5 separate regions of the Homo sapiens genome follow, and regions 1, 3, 4 and 5 are each linked to region 2. The links are contacts of gene promoters, found by promoter capture Hi-C in human tissues and cell types (Jung and others, 2019). All regions are on one chromosome and are shown on one strand. Each heading gives the region's core, a stretch centred on a gene start or on the middle of the fragment in contact. The rest is flanking DNA. Distances are from core to core; before and after follow the strand shown.

What was found. The method cuts DNA at HindIII sites, captures the fragments that hold promoters and counts their contacts. A contact is called where the count stands out against the background at its distance.
Region 1: a fragment that was not itself captured here is called in contact with the fragment with the promoter of EVX1 in region 2 in 3 of the 25 tissues and cell types used here (IMR-90 fibroblasts, mesendoderm cells and thymus).
Region 3: a fragment that was not itself captured here is called in contact with the fragment with the promoter of EVX1 in region 2 in 1 of the 25 tissues and cell types used here (spleen).
Region 4: a fragment that was not itself captured here is called in contact with the fragment with the promoter of EVX1 in region 2 in 2 of the 25 tissues and cell types used here (IMR-90 fibroblasts and mesendoderm cells).
Region 5: a fragment that was not itself captured here is called in contact with the fragment with the promoter of EVX1 in region 2 in 2 of the 25 tissues and cell types used here (heart left ventricle and mesendoderm cells).

What each region holds. Positions count from the first base shown.
Region 1 is chr7:27,466,092-27,468,844 of GRCh38, reverse strand. No RefSeq gene overlaps it. Among named protein-coding and RNA genes, the nearest start is that of TSL, 150 kb to the left of the region's middle. The HindIII fragment of the contact is 3,495 bases long and covers 1-2,753 here.
Region 2 is chr7:27,241,527-27,244,226 of GRCh38, reverse strand. EVX1 (even-skipped homeobox 1) reads right to left here and starts at 1,425. Exons shown (of 3, transcript NM_001989.5): 1 at 770-1,425. The coding sequence starts at 1,196. EVX1-AS (EVX1 antisense RNA) reads left to right here. Exons shown (of 4, transcript NR_120507.1): 2 at 2,217-2,312; 3 at 2,586-2,678. RefSeq lists an enhancer at 930-1,807. The HindIII fragment of the contact is 9,702 bases long and covers 1-2,700 here.
Region 3 is chr7:27,485,010-27,487,920 of GRCh38, reverse strand. No RefSeq gene overlaps it. Among named protein-coding and RNA genes, the nearest start is that of TSL, 130 kb to the left of the region's middle. The HindIII fragment of the contact is 3,114 bases long and covers 1-2,911 here.
Region 4 is chr7:27,440,137-27,442,955 of GRCh38, reverse strand. No RefSeq gene overlaps it. Among named protein-coding and RNA genes, the nearest start is that of TSL, 170 kb to the left of the region's middle. The HindIII fragment of the contact is 5,895 bases long and covers 1-2,819 here.
Region 5 is chr7:27,421,808-27,424,572 of GRCh38, reverse strand. No RefSeq gene overlaps it. Among named protein-coding and RNA genes, the nearest start is that of EVX1-AS, 180 kb to the right of the region's middle. The HindIII fragment of the contact is 3,767 bases long and covers 1-2,765 here.

The DNA.
Region 1 (2,753 bases), core at 228-2,727, 220 kb before region 2:
TGAGGCAAAGATGAATTTGCAGGAGCTTTGTCGGGGGGGGGGCGGTGCTCTTGGGATGACACCCAAGGGAAGGGAGGAGAGGGAAGCAGGATCGGGCAGTGGGAGGAGTCCAGCTGTGGTGTGGTCTCAATGGCAACCTTGGTAGATGCTAAGGAGAGTTCTGAAGCAGAACTTTTCAGAGTTGTCCCAGTTGGGGAACACGGGCCAGGACGTTATACCTCCATGGACCAGTCATTGGATGCAGCAGGCCACCCCGGGAAAGGGGGTGACCTTGGATGAAGCGGCTCCTCATTGGGCAAGGCAATCTCTGAGGGCTTCCTGCTGGCAGCAGTCCCTGCAGCTGTAGAGTGGCCCTTCATCCCTTAAGGGGCATGTGGGTGGTGCAGGCCTGTGGCACCCACCAGACCTGTGGATGCTGGTACAGTCTCGACACACCTCAGCGTAGAGAACAAATAGGGGTTGAGTAAGTAAGCAATTCAGGAAGACTCAGGTAATCTTTTGGTAATCTCAGGTAATGCGTTCTGTTTGTTACATGCCTACTCCCACTCCATCAGAATGGGTTAGGGATTGAATTAAAAAACAGTAAGATCACAGGCCCTGCCTGAAAGAAAGAAGCTTATAGTCCAATAGTGGCTACCAAAAGGTAAACAAACGGGGCAATATAATGAGAATCAGAAAACAGAGGGTTATGGAGTAAAAACACATTTTCAAAGAAGTCTTAGGGCATGACAAATGCTAAATAAAAAAAGAGGACACCAACTGTTTGTGTAAGCACTCATCTTCCAGCACACACTTTTGTTATGCTGGTGCCAAAAAATCCCTTGTAATTTGATTTTTAAACTAAGCAATTTTTTAAGTTGCCAGTCACCTAGAAACAATAAATGCACTGAACTTTTTCTCAGTCAAAGTTCCCCTTGTCTTTTTACAGCACTTATTTTTTTTCTTTTCTGAGTATGAAAGTTTTACAAATATATAGATGGAAAAAATACTGGAAAGAAATTCATCAAAATGTTAACAGTGCTTATAACCCCCAAGTAGTCAATTTATATGCATTTTTTTCTTTAAGTTTTTTTATTTCCCACATTTTCTACAAGTGTGAGTGACTTTTATAATCAAGGGAAATATACTTTTTAAATATAGTGTGAAAGTGTTGCGACAAAACTGTGTGAACACAGAAGATGAAAACACAGAGCAGCAGGTGAGGGAGAGCTTCCTGGAAGAAGTGTCACCCGCACCAAGCATTAAAGGTGAGCTGGGGCTGGGTGAGGAAAGGATGGAGCACATGGTGCTGCACTTGAAGGGCACAGGCAGAAAGAACAAAACGTGCCATGGCCCTAGAGTGTGAAGAAGCATGTTGGGTAAAAGGCTGAGAAACAGGGAGCCCTTGAGAGGGAAGAGATGAGGCTACAAGGGCAAGAAAGGGCAGAGGATGAAGGGCCTCCAGGGATTAGGGGTGCAGATCTGGAAGCCCACGTCACACCCTTGCACTCAACCTCTTCCAGCTTAAAAGGCTTCATGATTGAACAGGGTATTGATTAATGGATGCTGTTTTGTGGAACTAATTTAGAAGTAAAAACTGATTTAGAGTGAAAAGCTTCATGCTTGACATGAAGTTTCTCAGCCTAAGCAAGGTGACCTGACTCAGGCAGAGAAAGTGGTCTGTCAATGCGAGAGATGATATAGACATGACTACACACACACACCACCCCACACCCTTAAGACTCTAGAATCTACATTTTTTAAAGGAAGAAGAAAAGAACCAGCTCAGGTTCACTTTGCATACTTTAAAAGTAATAACCAAGATTTGCAGGTAGTCCTTATCCAGGGATCTGAACTCTCCGCAGGTCATTAACAATGTTAACTGTTAGCAGCCTGGGAATCCATTAAAAACACATGTCGGGGGCTGTGGCCATCTAATGCTGCAGGAATGCATTTGGCTGAGTACTGAACTCACCTTTGCAGACCTCAGAACCTCTCTGTCGTCCTGTGTGCCAGCTGGGCTGGGTTCGCTGAAGATGCCCTTAGGACTGTTTTATCTGGGGCACCCGCACTATTAGCACCCACACTCATTTCCTGTTCCTGCCTCAATTTTGTCTGTGTCTGGGAAGAACTAGTGGTCACTGCAGGCCACTGGTTTTTCTCCTAGCCCAGTCCTTCCATCCCTATCCCTATCCCTATCCCTGTCCCTGTCCCTGTCCCTGTCCCTGTCCCTGTCCCTGTCCCTGTCCCTATCCCTATCCCTATCCCTATCCCTGCACTGCCTCACTGCCTGCTTGGACTCTTACTGCATCCACTCAGGATCTGCAATCCGCTTCCACTTGCAACCTTGCTCCCCTCCTACTTGCTTCCCCCTGGCCACCTGGACAATCTCTGAAGCAGAGATGAAGGAGTCCTTTACTTGCTCAAAACTTGAATGACCCCCAGTTACCCGTGGCAGAGTCCAACTTCCCCACCATTTTTACATGCACCTCCCACATCCAAGGCCCTCCATGGTCTGGCCAGACCTTACCTCTGCAGAACCGTCTCCTACCATCCCCCATGGACTCCCTCCATGCCAGCTGGCCAGGAGCACCCTGTCCACAGAGCACAGACATTGCCGGTTGCCCCCGAGGACCCTGCTCACACTAAGCTATTAAGTAGGTGTAAAAGTAATGACAGTTTTGGTCATTTTTTTAAAAAAGTAATTGCAAAAACCACAATTACTTTTGCACCAACCTTTTGCAACTTTTTTTTGCCTTCTTCTCCGCCAGGAT
Region 2 (2,700 bases), core at 176-2,675:
CGGGCTATCCACCCCTTTCCCATTAGCCTTTGGTGGGGAGGGGTTCTCCAGTTAAACCAGCCCCCCTTTGGGCCTACCTCTGAGAAGGGTGGGGCTCCAGCCCCCTGCAGCTCCTTTTCCTTTGGGTGGAGAAGTGGGACTAGGAAGGAAAGGGGAAGGGGGGAGGACCCGATCTCTGCCTTTTCAAATGCAACCGGAGACCAAAGGCAATTAGACCATTGGGACCATTTCCGACCTGGCGCCGCGAAGCCCGGGAAGTGACAAGGTAATTTGGACCTCTGACCGACGTGCAAACTGGTCGGAGGGCTGCAGCACCCGGGCTGCCCAAGTGGGCCGCAATTTTACGGTCCTTTATGGACTCCTGGCTTCCGCGCCTCCATGCCTCTTACACCCTGCCAGCCACAAACTGCCCGGATCGGCGTTTGATCTTGCCCTCGCCTGGGGAAAGTGTCTTCCCCGAGCAATTGAAGCATTCCCCGAGCAGTTGAAACACTGGGTGCTTGGGGTGAGCTTCGAATCCCCCAAGTCCAGGACTTGCATCCGCCCCCTCAGCACCCCGCACTCAAGGCACTGCTGTCACCCTCAGTCCCGCCAATGCCAGAACACAGTAGGAGACCCCCGCCAGAACGCAGATAGCAGAGAGAGTTGCTCAGGTGGGTCCCCCCAGCCATCCTGCCCTAGGGGAAGGGAGTGTCTTCCTCCTGGCCTGCGCCGAAGTGAAGGGTGGGCGCAGTGGGAGGCCCGGGGAGCGGAGGGGCACGGTGGCTACCTTTGCTGTGCTGGTACTCGGCGTTCCCGGTGGCGCAGTCCGGGGTGCAGCTCACCTCGATTTCTTCATAGAAATCCGACTCGGTGTCCGAGCTACTGGGTTGCCCCTGTCCGGAGAGGCTGTCGACTGAGGGGGCCGGGGGTCCTGGGCCGAGCATGGCCGCCCCAGCTACCTGGGGCTCGGCGCCCGGCCCCGCCGCGCTGCCTGCGAGTCCATCTACCGGCTCCTCCTCCGGGCCTCCCCCGCCGCGCTCCCGGGTGGCCGGAGGGACGGCCCGAGGGCTCAGGCAACCACGGGGCACCATTTTCTCGGGCGGCTCCGGCAGCGGGCTGCCCACGGCTTCGGACAAATTTGAGACTCTCTTGCCAACCAGAGTGCCAAGCTGACCCCCATCCAGAAACACAACCATGTCCTTTCGGCTCTCCATCCCGGGGCTCTCCGGTGGGGGAGGGGAAAGCCCCAAGTGAGTTCCTAACCCCGGCTCCCTGGGTCTCCAGCGGCCGGACGGATCTTGGTTGCAAGAGGGAGAAAGAAAGGCCGGGTGCCTGGGAGGGCGCGGAGCTGCTGGAGCGCGGTCTGGACCGCGACCGCGGCGGTGGCGGTGGGAGCTAGGGTCACCTTGTGAAGCGAGCGCTCCTCTGTGCCGCACCGCCTCTGGGAGGAAGCCCCATTGCCCTCTTCTTTCTAAGCTGTCATCCTCCTGCTGCAATCGTCATTACAGTACCGCTGGTGACGCCACTCGGCGAGCGCAAGTGGATAAATAGAAACGTCTGCCACAGCGAAGATGAAAGGAAACCCGCAGCTAATGGCTCGGCAGTGATGCGCCAGGTGTGGGCCTCGCTCGATTGGGGAGGAGAGTGTGAAAACAGACAGAGAGACACACACACTGAGAGAGGGAGACACCCAGGCAGAGGGGATGCAAATGGAATTCCGCAGAAAGAAAAGAGAGCTTAACGCGCGCGGCGAGTTCCGCAGGGGCAGCGGGACTCGGTAATTAAATAAGCTTTTGATTTTTTCTTTTATTGTTGTTTTGACTTTTGTTTTCTTAACTTGGTGCCTTGATCTAACACCGATGAAAGAATCCATAACTGCATTTTAGAAGTGTGAAGCCCGGCTTACAAGCCTCAATTCTGTCGGCATTATTACAACTGTCTGCCCCTGGCAGCTAACCTCAAACTGGCTGAAAAGTCTTTTTACAAGCTACGGAAAAATGTATTCCCCCGCCCCAAGTTGACTGGAGAGCTTGAGGCTGGGCCATCTTTTCCTCTTTTCTCCTCCCTCTCCCTACCCACCTCTGTCTCCTTACTCCTGCGAACCAAACTTTGCTATTTTTCTTCCCTAAGGGGCAAGAAATAAATACCTTATTATTATTTTTTAATTTAAAGACCCGCCTTGGCTTCTGTAAGAGTGTGTGCTGATTTCTTTTAAATACCTCCTTCCCATCTAGATGGCCTTAAGTTTTCCACAGCCTGGCTTCATCTTGAGATGGCTATTCGTACAAGAAGTCGCTTTCCCGTTTGCCTGGACCTCGCCTGCACTCCAGGTATGTTGGGTGGGGAGAGTTTCTAAGAGTTGTCTTTTTTTTTCCCTTGCCCATATTTTAAAGTATTCGTTCAGAATCAGCGAAGTCTCCTGGAAAGAGGTTTTTCGAATGAAGAGGCGCCAGGAATGCGGCCCCTGCTGTGGCAGTACTGGAGGCCCCTACTTGGGAGAAGGCAGTAGCTTTCACCGCGCTATTTTGGGCAGGGGTTCAGCCTCCCCGAGTACAAAAAGGTTGGGGTTCATAGAGGTTTGACTCATAAGGTCCTCTCCCAAGTCCCTGCCTAGGGGCAGTGGTACCTGTCTCCAAAAGTGGATGGCGTTTGAGGTAGAAGAGAGTGAAGTCGCTGAAAATGCCCTAAAACAGCAAGTAAGTAGGGACTCTGATGAAG
Region 3 (2,911 bases), core at 178-2,677, 240 kb before region 2:
TTTTGGATGTGTTGTTTAAACTACTAAAAGAGCAATGAGAGGTGGAGGGATGGAGTCAGGCTGCCCAGTTGACTTTGGGTAACTTGCTTTTCCTTTCCAAACCCGTCTCCTCTCTGTAAAATAGGGCTAGAAATAGTGCACACCTCAGAGGATGCTGTGAGGAGTAAGTGAGACAATGCCCTTGACCGCCCAGCGGGGCCCAGCACACAGGGAACGCGTGGTGCAAGTGGGAGCTCGTTTGCACTCCAGAGTGGGAGGACGTGCAAGCTGGGACGTGGCTTCCACTGCAGTCCAGGGGTCAAGTAAAAATGATAAGATGCTTCTCATTAAAAGACAAAAATCTTTCTTTAGAAAAAGTCTTCATGTGGGGCAGAGTGTTCCTTCCAGACAAGCCATCTCTGAATCCAAGTATGAAGTGAGATTCAGACAGGACAGCCCGTACAGTCATCTGTAGGATTCGAGCCAGGTGAGTGTCCACCAGATGAAACCAGGCCCCGAAGAAATCCATGGGGCTGGATCCTAGCACCTGTTTAGATTCAGTGCCCTGCTGCTCTGGCCCAGGTCTTTATTTCCCTGGTTTCGCTGGCTCACCTGTGTGTACTTTTCTGGTAATTTTTGCTTGTGGGGGAAGACCAGGAAAAACTGATAGGCAATGAGATGGAATTTCTTTATTTATCCACAGTTTCAGTCAGGGGAACCCTGCACTCCACCACCCTCTACACAATAGGACTTAGAGACCTGTGCTTTAACTTGGCCTGGTTCAGGGTCTAATCACTGTCCTCTAGGTGGCCAGCCTCCAACAAGGGAACTGCCACTGTGCCAAGGAGGCCAGACTCAGTTCATCAGAGCAGGTAGATGTGGGAGGGGGTCCAGGGATATGGCTTCAAGGGGGTCACTAAGATCCCTGGCCCATTTGCAGATGGGCCACCAATGAAGATGAAGTGTGGTCTTGGAGGCCATGGAGGCTCCCGGAAGGCTGGAGGCTGGCCATCTCTGCTTGGCTCCTGGGGCACAGGCTAAGCTTCAATGGCACTGGGTGGCAATCAGATGGTGGGGCACACGGAGCTCCCTGCTGTGCAGCCTTTCTGTTTAGAACTGGAGAAGGGCAAGGCATGCTTTCTGAGGATCCCTCAAAGACCTCTGCTGCTGTCCAGTCAAGGCCTTCGCTTCCCAAGCATTTCCCAGGCTTCCTCACCTCTGCACCCTTAACGCCATCCTACTTTGCTAAAATATGCTAGTAAATGACATCCAGGTAAAGAAGAAATGGAGAATGCCATAGTCTAATAATTTGCCTCCTAAAATTCACACCCTTTTTGCCAGATGGCAGGAGTGAGAATGACCTTTGATGTGGATGGTTGGCAGACACCCAGCAAGAGACCCCTCCTCGCCCCCAGAGACTTCCCCATGGAGCTGCATCTCCCAGCAGAGGAAAGCCCAAGGTAATGTCTGTGCTGCAAGCCCACCTGTATGTGGATTATCCCTCTCCGTTTCCTCCACATCCCCAGAAATCTCAGCTTTACCATCATTAAAAATATACCTAAATATTAAATTCTAAATAATGTATTAGCATTATTTCGTCAACCCTAAAATGTGTCCTTGAATTGTATAGAACAGGTGTCCATTGCTGTGCATTTATTGTATTTGGATTTTTATTTCATTAATTTTACTAAATAATACATGCACAATGTCAAAGCTAAAAATGTCCAAAAGAGTATACAATGAGGATGAGGTGCCTCTCCTCCCATCCCTGCCCCACTCCCCAGGCCTTTGTTTCCCCTGCACATGGAGCAACCATTGTTTTTAGTTTTTTCTGTGTCGTTCCAGAGATAGTCTACATATATACCAGCATGTATGTATGTGTGTCTGTATGTTTGTTTGCTTGTGTGTGTGTGTATACACGGTATCCTTTTCAAAGTACAAGAGGTGGCACATTGTTAACATTGCTTTGTATATTGATTTTTTTCCATTCAACAGTATATCTTGAAGTTTGTTCAACATCACCATGTATAGATTGTGCCATAATTTAACCAGTCCCCTACTGATGGACAATTGTATTATTCCTAATTTTTTGAAATTATAAACAAACCGCAGAGAACATCCTCAAGCATACTTGTTTGGATGCAACACACATATCTGTGAGTTAAAAATCCTAGTATTATAAAATGCAAAACTATAAAACTCCTAGAAGGTAACAGAGGACAAGACCTAGATGACCTTTGATATGACAATGACTTTTTAGATACAATACCAAAGGCACAATCAATGCAAAAAAATTTTAATGCACTTCATTAAAATTAAAAAATTAGGCTGGGAGTGGTGGCTCGTGCCTGTAATCCCAGCACTTTGGGACACTGAGGCAGGTGGATCACCTGATGTCAGGAGTTTGAGACCAGCCTGGCTAACATGGCAAAACCCCGTCTCTACTAAAAATACAAAAATTAGCTGGCATGGTGGTACACACCTGTAATCCTTGCCACTCGGGAGACTGAGGCACTTGAATCGCTTGAACCTGGGAGGCAGAGGCTGCAGTGAGCCGAGATGGTGCCACTGCACTCTAGCCTGGGCAACAGAGAGAGACTCTGTCTCAAAAAAATAATAAAATTAAATTAAAAATTTCAACTCTGCAAAAGACATTTTCTTTTTTTCTTTTTCTTTCTTTCTTTCTTTTTTTTTTTTAAGATGGAGTATCATCCTGTCGCCTAGGCTGGAGTGCAATGGCACAATCTCGGCTCACTGCAACCTCCACCATCAGAGTTCAAGCAATTCTCTTGTCTCAGCCTCCTGAGTAGCTGGGATTACAGGCGCGCACCACCACGCCTGCCTAATTTTTTGTATCTTTAGTAGGGATGGGATTTCACTATGTTGGCCAGGCTGGTCTCGAACTCCTGACCTCGTGATCCTCCTGCCTTGG
Region 4 (2,819 bases), core at 188-2,687, 200 kb before region 2:
GTGACATAGGAGCCTTCAGAAATAAAGATCCAAAAACCAGGGAAAATTTTGTATGTTTATGCTTAGGTTTAATGAAGAATGGATGGCCATGCAGAAATATGATTAGATTAAAAGGGTATGATCTAATAGTAATAGATGGAGAGGGGGAACCCAGCAAGACCTGTCTGTTCAAATCCTTCTTGGCCTCTCTGTGTAGCATTCCTTCCTTGAGGATTGGGCAAGATCCTTCTGGGATGAGAGTCTTCAAGGAAGAAGGGAAGAGGGAGAGTGATCATCCTAGGTTTTATGGCTTGCTTTGGGGAGAGGAGTTCTAGGTTCTATGACTCACTTTGGGGAAGAGAAATTCTGGCTCCTATGACTCACTTCCAGGGGTAAAGATTTGGCACATCTCTCAACTGGTGAATGGATAAATGAAATGTGATATACCCATATGATGAGATGCTATTCAGCAATAAAAAGAAAGAAATACTGATACATTCTATAATCCATAAAACCTTGAAAAGCCTTATGCTATGTGAAAGAAACCAGTCACAAAAGACCACATATTATATGATTCCTTTTACATGAAAGGTACAGAACAGGCAAATCCATAGAGACAGAAAATGGGGGATGAGGAGTTAAGGGGGACAGCTAAGGGGTGTGAGGTTTCTTTGGGAGGTAATAAAAATGTTTCTAAAGTTGATTGTGGTGATGGATGCACGCCTCTGTAAATACACTAAAAGCCACTGAATTGTACACTTTAAGTGTGCGAATTGTATGGTCTGTGAATTATATCTCAATAAAGCTGTTAAAAAATAGCTTTGTTTCCAAATGACAAAATCAATACACATTCTTTGTGGAAAACTTATAAAAGATTGAAAATATGAATGGATAAAGTAAAAGTCACCCATAATTCCACAGATAACAAGAGGTAACATTCTGGTGTCTATCAAGGACATGCTTTGGCTCTTCTGAAGCAAGGAGCAAATTCCTTTACAGTGCAAGAACCTTACTGGCTTTACTGGTCCCCCAAGATATGTGTTGGCATATGACATTGCTTTCACAAAGCCCTGATGCTGTAGAAATTAGTTCTGTCTCTGAGATGGCTCATAAACCATTTTTACTTTAGCAAGTGGGGTTGAAAGTGAGATCTCTTGAGGCCTTGGTGGATGGGGACAGCAAAGGTTGAGTTTGCATGGGAGGTAGAAAAATAGAAATGTCTGGAGCTTGGGAATCTGGGAAGTGTTATGGAAAGATGAACCCCTGGGAGAGAGGAAGAATAAATATAAGAGTGAAGTAGAAGGCTAGGGGCAGGGGCACATCTTTGAAAACAAGCCTTACCTATTTCACTGTTTTGCACATAGAGATAGTCCAAGATCTGACAAAAGAGGAGTGTTAATAATCATGTCTAAAAAACCTTCCTAGCATTAATATTACCACTAACAATAACCCTTTCTCCATTGAATAGTGTACCAGATTGTATTTTCCAGAAATCGCAATATCTATAAGGTTCTTCTATCCCATACGCTCTTTTTGCAAGATGCCTGGCACTTCTTCACCAAGAGATGGGAGTCTGTCTCCTCTCTTCAAATCTTGGTGTGACTACCCTGACCAATGGAATATGGTGGAAGCAATGCTATGTGACCTCTCATAGGATATAGCTCCCACTTGGCTCTTTCAGGACACTTGCCTTTGGAACCCAGCTACCATGTTTTAGGGAAGCCCAGGCCACATGGAGAAGCCACATGTGGGTGTTCTAATCCACAGTCCCAGTTAGACCTTCAGTCAACAGTCAGCATCAGTTGCCAGACATGTGAGTGAAGAGCCTTCACATGCTTCCAGTTCTGAAGCTTTGAGTTTTCCAGCCAAAACCATTAACAGTGAGAAGCAGAGACAAGAAATCCCTGCTGGGCCTGTCTGAATTCTTGACCCACAAAAACTGCAGAGGATAATAAATGATTGTCTAGTTTTGAGTCACCACATATATGGTAATTTTGTTACACAGCAATAGATAACTAATACAAATGGTGTTGACAGTTTCAAAAGTTTTTCACAGTAATCTGTTAGTTCAGGCAAGCACAATGAGGAAAGTTCTTTCCATTTTACAGATAAAGAAATTGAAAGGCAGAGACATGTCTCTGGTGTTTTTTATTGCATGTGTACATATGCTAAAAGTTTTAAACTGCATTATTTACTTTTCTCATTATTACTGTTAACTTGAGATTACTTATATTTTATTAGAAAGGGAAACTTTGATTCCCTTAAAAGGACTCATAAAAATAAAAAATAAGGCAAGAGTCAAGGAAGTCAGACAAATTGTTACTTCTTCTTCCTGAATTTGGTACCACTTATGCTCTAGTTTCCAACACTCAGTAACCTTAACGGTGAATCAGTTTTAGAACTATATGACCACCTGCAGAATCCCACCATCTTAAAGGATCTTAATCTAACAGATCTACCATCTCATGCCACGGTGTCTCAAGTTATATCTTAGGATATCTAAATTTCTGTAGATGATGGTAAAATATGCTGCTGAGTTTCACAGGATCCCTAATGAACCTTTGTGTTTGCTAACTGCTCCAGACACATGTGTTTCTTCTGCAACATTTTCCCTGTTGTCATACTAGGCTACCTATGGTAGGTAGCCTATGTTAGGTGAGTAAGGGTCTTAGTTATGAAAAACACTGACCAAATGATAAGGTACTCGCTCTGATTTGAGATTCAGTTAAGAACCATGACTTTTATGCTCAATCAGTATCTTGTACTTTTTTTTGAAAAAATAGCAAGTTATTTGTTAAGTCAGCTTCCAGATCCTTGACAGATCATCTTTGATCAGAAAT
Region 5 (2,765 bases), core at 168-2,667, 180 kb before region 2:
CCTCACAACGGTAGGTCAATATCATTTTTTCCCTGTTTAAGGAAGAAAAAGCAAGGCCAGAGAGGGAGACAAGCCTCTGGCTCAGGTCAGACAGGGAGTTACCAGGAACCCTTTCCTGCTGCCTGCGGGCAAGGCACCTCCGGGACATGTGTAAACAAGATAAAACAAGGCCAGTTACTTCCTTAAGGAAATTAAAACTCCTAATTTGGAAAACTTTCTCCCTGAAGCTTTAAGTCTAGGTCAATATGACAAGTGCAATGAAGTACCCTACTTTCATCTCTTTGTCTATCTAATTTCTCCCTAGATCAATCCCCACCTCCTCTGGGAAGTTCTCCTTGATTATGTCAGCCTTCAGGAGTCTTCCTCTCCTCTCTGCACTTGACCATACTTTGCCATCACATGGCAAGTGCTATGTGTTCTGTGCGGTTTTCCTGGTCCCTTGCATGATCTCTGGCACATAAAAGTCCAGTATGTATTATTTAATGACTGCATGAAGTTTTATGACAAATATGTTGCATGTACCTCTGTGTGTGTGTGTGTGCGCGCGCGCGCGTGCGCGTGCACTTGGGAAATGGTGAGAGGCTGGGAGCAGTCCCACCCCCAACTTTAATTAATCAGTCAAGACAGGTGAAGTCTGAAGACCACAATGCCGTAGTCACAAAGTGACTGGGGACCACAAAACCATGTTGCTTCCTACACATTCCTGACAAAAGTAATCTTTGAAGTTCTGATGTTCCTTACCATCACAGCACTTGCAAATATTACAATCGCAGGCTAGCAAATGACCCAGTCTACTCAACTGACCACCCGACAGAAAGCGCAGTTACACTAGGCTCTGCCGGAGCCAGAAGCCGGCAAAGACTCCACTGCAGGGTCCAGCTGTCTTACACACACTTGCACAGGCACGCTGGCAGAGCACAGCCACATCAAACAGATGAGTGCTCCTCCATCTCCCTGCTTCTTACGTTCACATTTGGCCACTAATCATTAATTCATCCACAAGAGTTTACTGGGAAGCTACCATGTACCAGGCCCTAAACCAGGGACTGATGAGCACAAACAGCTCCTCTACGCCCACACTGGCAAACGTTCAGGTGTTCACAGCTTCTGGTCGGCTGACGATGACTCACCTTGCTTTCCAGAGCTGTTTTATTTTCTTCATTGTTAGTATATAGTAATGGTTATCGTAGATGGGGACGCTCTGTCTGAACTTGATCTATTCTCCTGCATGATTAGTGGACACTCTTTGTTGCTTGGTGGAGAAAAAGCAGCCACAAAAGTCATGTCCTCATTTTGGTCCTCAGTTTCTTTCCTTTTCTTTTTCTTTCTTTTTTTTTTTTTTTTTTTTTTTTTTTTTTTGAGACAGGGTCTGGCTCTATTGCCCAGGCTAGAGTACAGTGGTGCAATCACAGCTCACTGCAGCCTAGACCTCCTGGGCTCAATCTACCCTCCCATCTCAACCTCCTGAGTAGCTAGGACTACAGGTGTGTGCCACCGTGGCCAGCTAATTTTTGGGTGTTTTTTTTTTTTTTTTTTTTTGTAGAGATGGGGTTTTGCCATGTTGCCCAGACTGGTCTTAAATTCCTGGGCTCAAGTGATCCGCCAGCCTCGGCCTCCCAAACTCCTGGGATTACAAGTGTGACCCACCGTGCCCAGCCAGTCCTCAATTTATCTGTATTATGGCTGAGCACACCAGGTGGTCAACAAAGCCAGCACCTGGCAGCAAGAGTAGGCTAAACTCCTGCGCAGTCTTGATTCAGCAGTTTTGAAGCCATTCCTTGCAGTTCTTTGCTCAGGGGCCTCCCTCCAATCCACTCGGAGACTCACATTGAGTAGGATACAGAAATCACTGCACATGGCGCTCCTCCCCACTGAATGCTTCATTATAACCCAACAGGAAAGAAGTTTAAACTAAACAAATGCTCTCTTTCCTTTTCTTCCCCCACCCATCAGTCTCTGTCATCTTGATAGAGAAAATATGGCTGTTAATAGCCTGCAGTGGAACAAACATTTGCATGACTGTTACCTCAGAGCCCATAATTCTGAGCTAATTGGCTGATGGTGCTTAAAATGATTAAGTGATTGTAATTTATATGATTAACCAATTAAACCATCCTCCAGTGATTGGTTCAGGGTAGGCCTTGAGATGTGCGCTTGTCTCTCAGCATGAAGGCCAACGCCGCCGTACAGTATTAAATGTTCTTCCAAATGCTGAGTTGTTCCTCTGACCAGCAGGTAAAATCCTTTACACTGGGTGGTTAAATTTGATCATGTTCAGTGAATGGCTACCAAAAACTCAGTGACTGGCATAAAAGTGGGAGACAGGGCAATGATTCTTTAAGAATAACATAAAGGGACAAAGTGGCTGTGTTGTTTCCTAGAACCACGGTTGTTAGTTGAAAATAGCCCAATTCCATAAAAGTGAAAGACACAGTTAAGACTGAAAACTTGGGAACCATGTTGTTCCATTCCAGCCCTGGGCTGGGCCACTTAGCAGCTGTGTTGTGTGATCAGGTTATCGAACCCCTTGAAGCCTGTGGATTCCTCTCCTATGAAACAATACTCTTACTTACCTCTTAGGATTATTAGAAAGATCAAGTAAGGCTATGCATATTATAATCCCAATAAATATTAGTGGCCGTTATTGTTGTTCATTTTGTTATGACTCTATTGCTCCACTGGAATATAAGCTCCAAAGACATCCTCACTTTTCTATTCCTGGTGATCAGGAAGGCGCCTGGCACATAACAGGGACTCAAAAATAT